Regions from separate parts of the Homo sapiens genome. Here region 2 is linked to region 1. The links are contacts of gene promoters, found by promoter capture Hi-C in human tissues and cell types (Jung and others, 2019). All regions are on one chromosome and are shown on one strand. Each heading gives the region's core, a stretch centred on a gene start or on the middle of the fragment in contact. The rest is flanking DNA. Distances are from core to core; before and after follow the strand shown. Region 1 holds the start of LRRC8E (leucine rich repeat containing 8 VRAC subunit E). Region 2 overlaps ARHGEF18 (Rho/Rac guanine nucleotide exchange factor 18).

Region 1 (6,415 bases), core at 1,543-4,042:
TGGTGGGAAGGTCCAGGAACAGGGGCTCGAAGAATTGGGGCAGAGCCAGGGAAAATAAAACGATGGGACGTATACGCTCAGCTTTCTCCACCAGACACTGAATGCCTCATTTTATCCCAACCCAGGCAGCGTGGATGTCGGAGACTTTGCTTTCCAGACTCAGGGGAGAGAAATAACTTGCTCAAGCTTCTACAGTTCCAAGCGGCATTCGAAGCCTGACCCATCCAACCTCCAGGTCCTGCCTGTAGGATTGCAACTGCTCTGTTCCCTCTTGGGAGACAGCCTCTAATTAAAATGCAGCATCTTGCCAGGCACGGTGGCTCACGCCTGTAATCCCAACACTTTGGGAGGCCAAGGTAGGCAGATCATTTGAGGTCAGGAGTTTGAGACCAGGCTAGCCCAACATGGTAAAACCCCATGTCTACTAAAAATACAAAATTAGCTGGAGTGGTGGTGGGCACCTATAATCCCAGCTAATGGGGAAGCTGAAGCAGGAGAATCTCTTTTTTTTTTGAGACAGAGTCTCACTCTGTCGCCCAGGCTGGAGTGCAGTGGTGTGATCTCGGCTCACTGCAAGCTCCGCCTCCCGGGTTCACACCATTCTCCTGCTTCAGCCTCCCGAGTAGCTGGGACTACAGGCGCCCGCCACCTCGCCCGGCTAATTTTTTGTAATTTTAGTAGAGACGGGGTTTCACTGTATTAGCCAGGATGGTCTCAATCTCCTGATCTCATGATCTGCCTGCCTCGGCCTCCCAAAGAGCTGGGATTACAGGCGTGCGCCACCGTGCCCGGCTGAAGCAGGAGAATCTCTTGAACCCAGGAGGTGGAAGTTGCAGTGAGCCGTGATTGCGCCACTGCAATCCAGCCTGGGCAACAGAGCAAGACTCTATCTCAAAAAACAAACAACAACAAAAAAACCACAGCATCTTTGCCAAAAGCACCTAAGAGCGGTGTTGCATTGTGGCAGGCCAGGCTGGAAGGCTTTCCAGCCTGAGACCATGTGGCTCCCACCAGCCCTGGCTCCATCCACCCATGCCTCACCCCTCCTCCCTCCCAGGTCCTCCTCAAGCCACTTGCCTCCAAAAAATGTGGTGATGAGTTCCTGCTGGGGGAAGGGTGGGAGAGTGAGACCCTCCACACCCACAGCCCATGCTAAGAGGCAGGGAAGAAGCAAGAAACATCCAGCAGTTTTCAGCCCTAAGAGGGGTTTTGTAGAAAACAAGGCCCAACCTTTTTTTTTTTTTAGACATAGAGTCCTGACGGACACAGTGGATCACGCCTGTAATCCCAGCACTTTGAGAGGTTGAGGCAGGTGGATCACGAGGTCAAGAGATCAAGACCATCCTGGCCAACATGATGAAACCCCATCTCTAAAAATACAAAGATTAGCTGGGTATGGTGCCACATGCTTGTAGTCCCAGCTACTCAGGAGGCTGAGGCAGGAGAATCGCTTGAACCTGGGAGGTGGAGGTTGCCGTGAGCCAAGATCGTGCCACTGCGCTCCGGCCTGGCAACAGAGCAAGACTCTATCTTGAAAAAAAAAAAAAGAGAGAGAGAGAGAGATAGAGTCTTGCTCTGTCACCCAGGCTGGAGTTCAGTGGCACGATCATAGCTCATAGTAGTCTCGAACTCCTGGGCTCAAGTGATCCTCCTGCCTCAGCCTCCCCAGTAGCTGGGACCACAGGTGCGTGCTACCATGCCCAGCCAACTTTTAGATTTTTTGTAGAGATGGAGTCTCGCTATGTTGCCCAGGCTGGTCTTGAACTTCTGAGTCCAAGCAATCCTCCCACCTCAGCCTCCCAAAGTGCTGGGATTACAGGTGTGAGCCACTGTGCCTGGCCTCAATCTTTTTTTTTTTTTGAGATGGAGTGTCGCTCTGTTGCCCAGGCTGGAGTGCAGTGGCCCAATCTCAACTCACTGCAACCTCCACCTCTTGGGTCCGAGCAGTACTCAAGCCTCAGCCTCCCCAGTAGCTGGGACTACAGGGACACGCCACTAATTTTTGTATTTTTAGTAGAGATGGGGTTTCACCGTGTTAGCCAGGCTGGTCTCAAACACCTGACCTCAGGTGACCTGCCCACCTCGGCCTCCCAAAGTGCTGGGATTATAGACGTAAGGCACGGTGTCCGGCTGAGCCTCAACCATTTATGCAAGGGAGAAACTGAGGGTCTAGGGTGGGGGAGGGTGGCATCTTTGTAGCCCGTCCTGGGTCAGGCCCCAGGCCTGCGGATTCCCAGCCGAGTGGTTTTCCAAGCCGCCTCTGCCAGCAGACTTGAAGATCTGGGACATGTGTAAGTTCAAGAGCACCAGAGGTCAGGCTTGGTTGAACCCACCCCAAGTGGTAGGTTCTGGAGCTCTGAGAGTCTCCCGGGGATGAGTTGTCAATGTCTTCCCAGATGCCAAGGGGAGGGGAAAGTGGTTGAGACCCCCAAAGTCAAGTTTATCTTCAGCCTGTTTATCTTCACTCTGAGACTTGGCCGCGTCTGCCTGGCTCCCAGGACGGGCACCTCGTGGGCCAGGTTTCCCTTTGCACCGGCCGGCACCCCCACCCCAGCTCCTGGTGTGTCGGGACGGCCTGCCCCGGCCACAGGGCCGGCGCACCTGGAGCGGCTCTGCCCCTTGTCCAGACCCGGGGACTCCCAGCCCGACCCCCACCCTGCCACCTCGTGGGGTGTCCAGAGGCAAAGAGCCACCTACTCACCGTTCCGGGAGGGACGCTGGGCCCAACTCCTGGGTCTCTGGGAGCGGAGCTGCCGCGACTCCCGCAGAGTTCCCGGGCGGGCCGCGAGGGTGAGTCAGGGCAGGCGGGGACAGGAGACCCGGAGCCGCCCCGCCCCGCCCCCGGACGACTCGGCCCCGCCTCGCCGCAGGCGCGCCCAGGTCGACCCTACTCCAGGCGCCGCGCGATCAGCAGGGTTGGGGGAAGACAGCCGTCTTAGGCTGCTTTGCCCTGGTGGGCTCGGGGCTGGCGGGAGATGCAGGGGTCTTAGAACTTTGCAACTTTGCAGTCTGGCTGGACCCTGGCAGCTGGGGAAACTGAGGGAGCTGGGGACGCTGAACTCCCAAAGCCATTCTACGGCCACCTTTCTGGGAACCAGGTCTTACGGACCCTGTCGAGAAAATGTGGAGGCCGGGCTCTGTGACTCACGCCTGTAATCCAACACTTTGGGAGGCCGAGGCAGGAGGATACCTTGGGCCTAGGAGTTTGAAACCAGCCTGAGCAATATAGTGGGACCACATCTCTACAAAAAATTTTAAAACCTACAAAAACAAAATTTTAAAAATTAGCCAGGTGTGGTGGTGTGTGCCTGTAGTCCCAGCTACTCTGGAGGCCGAGGTGGAAGGATCACCTGAATCTGGGAAGTTGAGAGGCTGCAGCGAGCTACGATCATGCCACTGCACTCCAGCCTGGGCCACCAAGAAGGACCCTGTCTCCAAAAGAAAAAAAAGAAAAAGAGGAAGTGCGGAAGGGCTCCTTCTAACCCCGCAAGGCCCAGTCACCTGGCCTTAAAGCCCAGCCAAGGCACAGGTGACTGCAGTTTTCAGGTGCTGGGAGTGGAGTTGCGGGAGGAGAGGACGGGGAGGGGACGGCTTCTCCCTTCAAGCTCTGGCCATGGGCGGGAACTGGGCTGAACCAACGGAAGTTGAGTAGAGTGGGGATGCCCTCCTGTCTGTCCCTGCCCAACACTGTGGTCTGCCCTCCAGGTGGGGAGTGGGGCACAAGCAGCTCCGAAGTCCTGGGGGGCCCAGCTTCTCTGCCTCCCCACCCCCACCCTGGCCGCCCCACTTGGGAGGCCTGAGCTGGGTCTTAGATGAGCAAATCTGTGGAGGTGGACCTTGATCTGTTCTCCGTCTGAAAAACCTTGGAGGCCGGGTGCAGTGGCTCACGCCTGTAATCCCAGCTCTTTGGGAGGCTGAGGCGGGTGGATCACGAGGTCAGGAGATCGAGACCATCGTGGCTAACACAGTGAAACACAGTCTCTACAAAAATACAAAAAAATTAGCAGGGCGTGGTGGCGGGCGCCTGTAGTCCCAGCTACTCAGGAGGCTGAGGCAGGAGAATGGCGTGAACCCAGGAGGCAGAGCTTGCAGTGAGCCGAGATTGCGCCACTGCACTCCAGCCTGGGCGAAGAGTGAGACTCCATCTCAAAAAAAAAAAAAAAAAAAAAGATAAAAAAAGAAAAGAAAAGAAAAACCTTGGATGTATCTATGGCCATACCACCCTAAAAGCATCTGATCCTCGTCTCACCTCGCAAGCTAAGCAGTGTCGGACCTGGTTAGTACTTGGATGGGAGACCACCTAGGAATACCGGGTGCTGTAGGCTTGGGCTGGTCACAGTGGCTTACACCTGTAATCTAGCACTTTCGGAGGCTGAGGAGGGTGGATCACCTGAGGTCAGGCGTTTGAGACCAGCCTGGCCAACATGGTGAAACCCTGTCTCTACTAAAAATACAAAAATTAGCTGGGTGTGGTGGCTTGTGCTACTTGGGAGGCTGAGACAAGAGAATCGCTTGAGCCTGGGAGGTGGAGGTTACAGTGAACTGAGATTGCACCACCCCACTCCAGCCTGGGCGACAGAACAGGATTCCATCTCAAAACAAAACAAAACAAAACCAAACCATCCATGGAAATGTTCCTACCTGGACTTAGGATGGGAGACGGAGAGTTCTCCCTGACAGGGTAAAAGAAGCCTTGACTTGGCCGGGCGCGGTGGCTCATGCCTAGAATCTCAGCACTTTGGGAGGCCGACTCGGGTGATTCACCTGAGGTCAGGAGTTCGAGTCCAGCCTGGCCAACATGGTGAAACCCCATCTCTACTAAAAATACAAAACATTAGCTGGGTGTGGTGGCACAAGCCTGTAATCCCAGCTACTTGGGAGGCTGAGGCAGGAGAATCGCTTGAACCCAGGAGGCGGATGTTGCCGTGAGCCGAGATCGTGCCACTGCCCTCCAGCCTGGGCAACAAGAGCAAAACTCCGTCTCAAAAGAAAAAAGAAAAAAAAAAAAGCCCTGACATTGACCAGGTCTGGGCCTGCGACTGGAAACCTCTAGGGTTGGAAACTTGTAAGTCAGGGACCTTCTGGGCACCGCCACAGGGAGTCCAAAGACAAAACTTCCTTTTGGATTTAGTAGAGCTTTAAGAGCACCTGTTGTCTGTCGGCATCTGCAGCTTCCTTGCAGGACAAGACCAGCAAGGCTCTCTACTCTCTGAGAGCTTCTGTCCTAGTGGGTGGGAGAGATACACTAAGTAAACTAATAAAGGAGACCAGGTGGGGTGGCTCACGCCTTAAATCCCAGCAGTTTAGGAGGCTGACCAAGGTGGGTGGATCGCTTGAGCCCAGGAGTCTGAGATCAGCCTGAGCAACATAGTGAGATCCCATCTCTACAAAAAATAAATAAAAATGATAGAAGAATTAGTCAGGCGTAGTGGCACGCACCTGTAATCCCAGCTACTCGGGAGGCTGAGGGAGGAGAATCGATTGAACCCAGGAGGCGGAGGTTGTGGTGAGCCGAGATTGCACCACTGCACTCCAGCCTGGGCAACAGAGTGAGACTCCGTCTCAAAAATAAATAAATAAGTAAATAAAAATGAGCTGGGTGTGATGGTGTGCACCTGTGGTCCCAGCTACTTGAGAGGCTGAGACAGGAGGATCACTTGAGCCTGGGAGTTGGAGGCTACAGTGAGCCATGATTGCACCACTGCACTCCAGCCTGGGTGGCAGCTCAGAACCTGGCTTTTAAAAACAAAACAAAACAAAAGACAAACGGAAGAACAAGGTAATGCCAGTTTGTGACAAATGTTGTATATATAACAAAGCAAGGTGAAGCGGTAGCAAGGGACAAGGGGTTCCTTGAAGACCGCTTTGAGGAAGGGACCTGTGAGAAAGGTTGTCTCTCCTTTGGAGTGACTCTTCCTGTCTTCCTTCCTTCCTTCCTTCCTTCTTTCCTTCCTTCCTTTCTTCTTTCTTTCCTTCTTTGTTTCATGGAGTTTTGCTGTTGTTGCCCAGGCCGGAGTGCAATGGCGTGATCGCTGCTCACCGCAACCTCCGCCTCCGGGGTTCAAGCAATTCCCAGCCTCAGCCTCCCGAGTAGCTGGGATTACAGGCATGCGCCACCACTCGGCTAATTTTGTATTTTTGGTAGAGATGGAGTTTCTCCACGTTGGTCAGGCTGGTCTCGAACTCCCGACCTCAGGTGATCTGCCTGTCTCGGCCTCCCAAAGTGCTGGGATTACAGGCGTGAGCCATCGCACCTGGCCTTCTTTTTCTTTCTTTATTTTTTTGAGATGGAGTCCTTGCCCAGGCTGCAGTGCAATGGCACGATCTGGGCTCACTGCAACCTTCGCCTCCTGGGTTCAAGCAATTTTCCTAACTCAGCCTCCAGAGTGGCTGGGATTACAGGCGCCCACCACTG
Region 2 (5,913 bases), core at 2,214-4,713, 530 kb after region 1:
TGAGCCGAGATTGTGCCACTGCACTCCAGCCTGGGTGATGGAGTGAGACCCTGTCTCAAAAAAAAATACATATGTGTTCAGCTTGCAGAGCAGAGATGGGCTTGGATGGGGCCAAGATGCAGGCAGGTGGCCCAGCCAGGACACCCGTGCAGATTACCTGGGGGAGCCATGACGGGGACCACCACCAGGGAAGGAGAAGGAGGGTGCAATGCACAGAAATGGAGGGTCCTTGGGGTTCAAAATTCACAGGACTTGGTGCCTGATGGGAGAGGAAGGGACAAGGAAAATGCCCTGGTCTCCAGCTCTGAAGACAAAGTGGATGATGAGAATCGAGACTCAGGAAGAGGGGGCAGATTTGCCAGCGGGTGGGGGCACAGCCTTGCTGCCTACTCACAGGCCTGCCTGCTTCCCCAGAGCCCACCGTTCCCCCATTGCCGTGTTACCTGTCCAACTGCCTGCATCCCATGGTTCTCTTTCAAAGAGGTCCAGATCCCAGGGAGGGCGCAGGGCTAAACTCCAGTCCTGGTTCTGTGATCCTTTACCCGGGACCTTCCATGACATCTGGACTAATTCCTTCACTGCTTGCATCTCAGTGTCTTTTTTCCTCATTCTGTCACCCAGGCTGGAGTGCAATGGTGTGATCTTGGCTCACTGCAATCCCCACCTCCTGGGTTCAAGCGATTCTCTTGCCCCAGTCTCCCGAGTAGTTGGGACTACAGGTGCACACCTCCATGCGCAGCTAATTTTTGTATTTTTAGTAGAGACAGGGTTTCACCCCGTTGCTCAGGCTGGCCTGTGCTGGGCATGTTGCCCAGACTGGTCTCAAACTCCTGACCTCAAGTGATCTGCCCGCCTCGGCCTCCCAAAGTGCTGTGATTACAGGCACGAGCCACCATGCCCAGCCCCTCAGTGTCCTCTTCCATAAAATGACAAGCCTGGGTACATGGGATGCCCTTTATGGCTTAACCGTAACAGATCCTCCTTCCTTAGTGTAGCGGATGTTGTGGAAAACCACTCAGATCCTCCGAGGCTGTGGGAGAAGGAACTGTCAGTTCTCAGCCCCCTTCCTGGGCAGCCCATCAGCAATGGGTGATTGACAAGGGGATATAAAAGCTTGCCCATTTCAGCCCAACTCCGTCTGAGTCTGCTTCCTGGAGACCCAACACACACCACCTGACTGTCTTGGTCCCTGGTGGAGCTGGAGCTGAACTATGTTTACGAGACCTCTCCCTGGCCCCTACCCTCTTAAGGATGCACCTCCTAGATGCCACATCTTCCACCCCAGGAGACCTTCCCTGAAGCAGCCTGGAGGCTGTCACCAGGACCTTTGCCACGACCTCAGTCCCAGCCACACACCATCAGGACTTGATGTTAACTGTGCCCCAACTCCACCCAGGGACCACAAGCTTTCAGGGTCTTTCTTTTGAGACTGGAGCCTGGGGGCTGGCCTACCCCACAGGCCCCTGACATAAGCGCTTAGAGAAAGTGTGATGAGAGCAGAGGGTATGGACGCAGGCTGCAGAGTCAGAATGGGCTTGAATCCCAACTCTGCCATGACGGGAACTTAGGCAAGTCAGTCTACCTTTCTAGGCTGTATTTGGTTTTAGTCAGCCTGCCTTCCTTCCTTCCTTCCTTCCTTCCTTCCTTCCTTCCTTTCCTTCCCTCCTTCCTTCCTTTCTTCCTCTCATCCTTCTTCTCATCTATCCATTACCCCTCCATTATCCGTCCATCCTTCCTTCATCCTTTCATTTATCCATCCTCCTTCCTTCCATCAACCCATCCATCCATCTTCCTTACTTCCTTCCTTCTTTCCTTCCTTCCACTCACCCGTCTTCTCATCTATCCATTCACCCATCCGTTATCCATCCATCCTTCCTTTATTCTTTTATTTATCCATCTTCCTTCCTTCCACTCACTCTTCTTCTCATCCATCCATTCATCCATCCATTACCCATCCATCTTTCCTTCATTCATTCATTTATCCATCCTCCTTCCTTTCATCCACCCATCTTCCTTCCTTCCTTCCTCTCACCCTTCTACTCATCCATCCATTCACCCACCCATTATTTATCTATCCTTCCTTCATTCTTTTATTTATCCATCCTCCTTCCTTCCATCAACCCATCCATCCATCCCCCTTCCTTCCTTTCTTCCTTTTTTCCTTCCTTTTCACTCACCCTTCTTCTCATCCATCCATTCACCCACCCATTATCCATCCATCCTTCCTTCATTCTTTCATTTATCCATCCTCCTTCCTTTCATCAATCTAGCCATCTTCCTTCCTTTCACCCATCCATCTTTCTTCCTTCCTTCCTTCCACTCACATTTCTTCTCATCCATCCACTCACCCATCCATTATCCATCCATCCTTCCTTCATTCTTTCATTTATCCATCCTCTTTCCTTTCATCCATCCATCTTCCTTCCTTCCATCTTTCATTTTATTCATCAATCATTCATGTATCCATCCACCCACATTTCTCATCTTTCTTCCTTCCTTCCATTCACCCACCTTTCTACTCTTTCATTCATCAACCATCTCTCCTTCCTTCCTTTAATCCACCCATCCTTCTACCTATCCATCCATACTTCCTTCTTTCCTTCCTTCCTTCATCCATCCTCCTTCCTTCCATCAGTCCATCCATCTATCCATCTAGCTTTCTTCTTTTTATTCACCCATCATCCATTTATCCATTCACCCACACTTCTACCCATCTTTCCTCCCTTCCTTCTAGTCATCCGTCATCCATTCATCCACCCAGCCACCCTTCTATTCATCCACGTATCCATCCATCCATCCATCCTTCTACTCATCTTTCCTTGATTTCCTCTTTCCTTCCATCTATCCATCCATCTATCCAGACACCCACCCACCCATCCATCTATCCATCCATCCATTCATCCCTCCATTGCTCCTTTCCTCCCTCTTCTTATTTCAGAACAGATTCTGGTTTCCTCATAGGTAAAACAGGATAATAAATGACTTTGCAAGTTTCGATGAGGATTCCCTGAGATAATGTACACAAAGTGCCTGGTAAAATGCAGGTGCTAAACAAAGTGTACTTGCTGCCACTGTCGTCATCAGCTCCTGCCCGTTTCAGCAGTCAGACACCTGCCTGATCATCCCCCATGGCAGAGAAGAAGTCTGGGTTCTCAGGTTTCCAGGATCCACTGCTGCTCTTGGTGGCTGAAGCCACAGCTCCAGAGTCAAAAGGCTGGACACATGACTTGGGCTCAGAGCCTGTGGAGAAAGGAGGGACAAGGTGTCAGGGATAAGCTGGGAGTGCTGAGGAAGCCAGGACCTGGATTCTGCATCTGTTGCTGGTCACCCTGGACCTCAGTTTTCTCAACTATAAAATGAGTTGGTGAGGGGAGGGGGAAGATGGTCTCAATGATCTTGAAGCCAACATACGTGTCACCTCTTCCCCATCCCAAGCCTATGGCAGACATTGCTAGTCAATCATGAGTCAATTTCCTGCTTAGCCATTTGCCCCCTCAGGATTCTTCCCAACACACCAGTTCCAACAGCCATCACCAGGTGATCCAAGTTGGCTTATGTATGAAATCAATTTGTTATGCCTGCTCTAGGAAAAAGCCCTCAGTTGATCAATGATGCTAATGGTCCCGTAGACCAAATGCAAGTACCCAATGCCCACATTGTTTTTCCTCCTCCTCCTCTTCCTCCTCCTCCTCCACCTTCTTCCTTCTTCTTCCTCCTTCTCCTTCTTCCTCCTCCTCTTCTTCTCCTTCCTTCTTCCTTTCTTCTTCCTCTTCCTCTTCTTGTCTTCTTCTTCCTCTTCTTCCTCTTCTTTTCTCCTTCTTCTTCTCCTTCTTCTCCTTCTTCTCCTTCTTCTCCTTCTTCTCCTCCTTCTCCTTCTCCTTCTCCTTCTCCTTCTCCTTCTCCTTCTCCTTCTCCTTCTCCTTCTCCTTCTCCTTCTCCTTCTCCTTCTCCTTCTCCTTCTCCTTCTCCTTCTCCTTCTCCTTCTCCTTCTCCTTCTCCTTCTCCTTCTTCTTCTTCTTCTTCTTCTTCCACAGAGTCTTGCTCTGTTGCCCCCAAGCTGGAGTGCAGTGGCGTGATCTCAGCTCACCACAACCTCCGCCTCCCGAGTTCAAGCCATTCTCCTGCCTCAGCCTCCTGAGTAGCTGGGATTACAGGTGCACACCACTGCACCTGGCTAATTTTGTGTGATTAATAGAGTTGGGGTTTCACCATGTTGGCCAGGCTAGTCTAGAACTCCTGACCTCAGGTGATCTGCATGCCTCAGCCTCCCAAAGTGTAGGGATTACAGGTGTGAGCCACGGTGCCCGGCCAGTGCTTTATTTGTTTTAGGGCTGAATAATATTCAATTGCATGGAGATACCACATTTCGTGTATCCATTGATCTGTTGATGGACATTTGGGTCGTTTTCACCATTTGGTTATTTCAAATCACGCTGCCATGAACAATTGCATACAGATGTACGCAATTGCACGGATGTGTGTTTTCCATTGTCTTGGGTCGTTACCTAGGAAGGGAATTGCTGGAGTACATGCTAATCTATGCTTAGCTTTTTGAGGAACCGCTGTTATGCAGTCTCTTTTTTGAGATAGAGCCTCACTCTGTTGCCCAGGCTGGAGTGCAGTGGCGCCATCTTGGCTCACTGCAACCTCCACCTCCGGGATTTGAGTGATTCTCCTGCCTCAGCCTGTTGAGTAGCTGGGATTACACGTATGCACCACCACACCTGGCTAATTTTTTTTATTTTTAGTAGAGACGGGGGTCTTGCTACGTTGGCCAGGCTGGTCCGGAACTCCTGAGCTCAGGCAATCCCCCCGCCTTGGCCTCCCAAAGTGCTGGGATTACAGGCATGAGCCATTGCACCTGGCCTAAAACCACTGAATTGTATGCTTTAAATGGGTGAAGTATATGGTAGCTCAATAAAGCTGTTCCTAAAAAGTTTTTTGTTGGAGCCTCTTGCAGAGCTTTGGATGGGGCAGGTACACATGGGGCCTGAAGCTTCAGTTTCCATTGCTTCAAGGTAAATTTGCCCCCTGATGCCACCTGTATTCACAGATGAGTGGCTGGACAGTAACGAGCAATGCCAGGGTTTCCACCATCACTGCTTTCCAGGTTGCCCTCCCGGGCTGGTTGGAGGGACTCTGTTCAGCTGCTGTTGTTAAGCTTTGCATCTGTTCTCTTCCCCACCCAGAAGCCGAAGCAGCATCTATGACTCACAGAAACGAAACAAGCAGGCTGTGAAGGAGGAGGAAAGCCAGATGTGGGGGAGGGTCCTGGAGGTTGGTGGGAGCTTGGGAGGGGAAAGGCAGTCCCATTCCTCAGCCAAGTCCCCTTAGGGCTGGAGGAGAGCCTGCAGGGTTGGCTTGCTTCACTGGACAGGGTCCTTGTGGAGGCCTGAGGCCTCCTGTAGCCTGCAGGACCTCATGCCCTGTATCTGTGAACCCTGAAGGTCTGGGATCCAAAGATCAAAGGTGAAAGGCCAGGGTTGGCCGGGCCCAGTGGCTCACACATGTAATCCCAGCACTTTGGGAGGCCGAGGAAGGCGGATCACTTGAGGTGAGGAGTTTGAGACCAGCCTGACCAACATGGCGAAACCTAGTCTCTACTGAAAATACAAACATTAGCTGGGCATGGTGGCATGTGCTTATAATTCCAGCTACTAGGGAGGCTGACACATGGGAATCTCTTCAGCCAGGGAAGGGCAGGATGCAGTGAACTGAGATTGTGCCATTGCACTCCAGCCTGGGTGACAGAGTGAGACTCTGTCTCAAAGAAAAAAAAAAAGGAAAAGAATGAAAAAAGAAAAGAAAAGAAATGCCAGGGTTGTGTGATTGTGCATGTTTTGTTGTTGTTGTTGTTGTTGTTGTTTTGTTTCAAGAGAGTCTTGCTCTGTCACCCAGGCTGGAGTGGTTCCA

What was found. Contacts are between HindIII fragments. The study calls those that stand out against the background at their distance.
Region 2: a fragment that was not itself captured here is called in contact with the fragment with the promoter of LRRC8E in region 1 in 2 of the 25 tissues and cell types used here (dorsolateral prefrontal cortex and lymphoblastoid cells).

The regions. Positions count from the first base shown.
Region 1 is chr19:7,884,887-7,891,301 of GRCh38, reverse strand. It overlaps LRRC8E (leucine rich repeat containing 8 VRAC subunit E), which reads right to left and starts at 2,792. Exons shown (of 3, transcript NM_025061.6): 1 at 2,702-2,792. It also overlaps the pseudogene RNA5SP463. RefSeq lists enhancers at 947-1,447, 2,337-3,035 and a silencer at 2,784-2,913. The HindIII fragment of the contact is 6,573 bases long and covers 1-3,768 here.
Region 2 is chr19:7,360,108-7,366,020 of GRCh38, reverse strand. ARHGEF18 (Rho/Rac guanine nucleotide exchange factor 18) reads right to left here. Exons shown (of 29, transcript NM_001367823.1): 2 at 3,116-3,240. The coding sequence starts at 3,130. Among named protein-coding and RNA genes, the nearest start is that of ARHGEF18, 14 kb to the right of the region's middle. The HindIII fragment of the contact is 4,406 bases long and covers 1,261-5,666 here.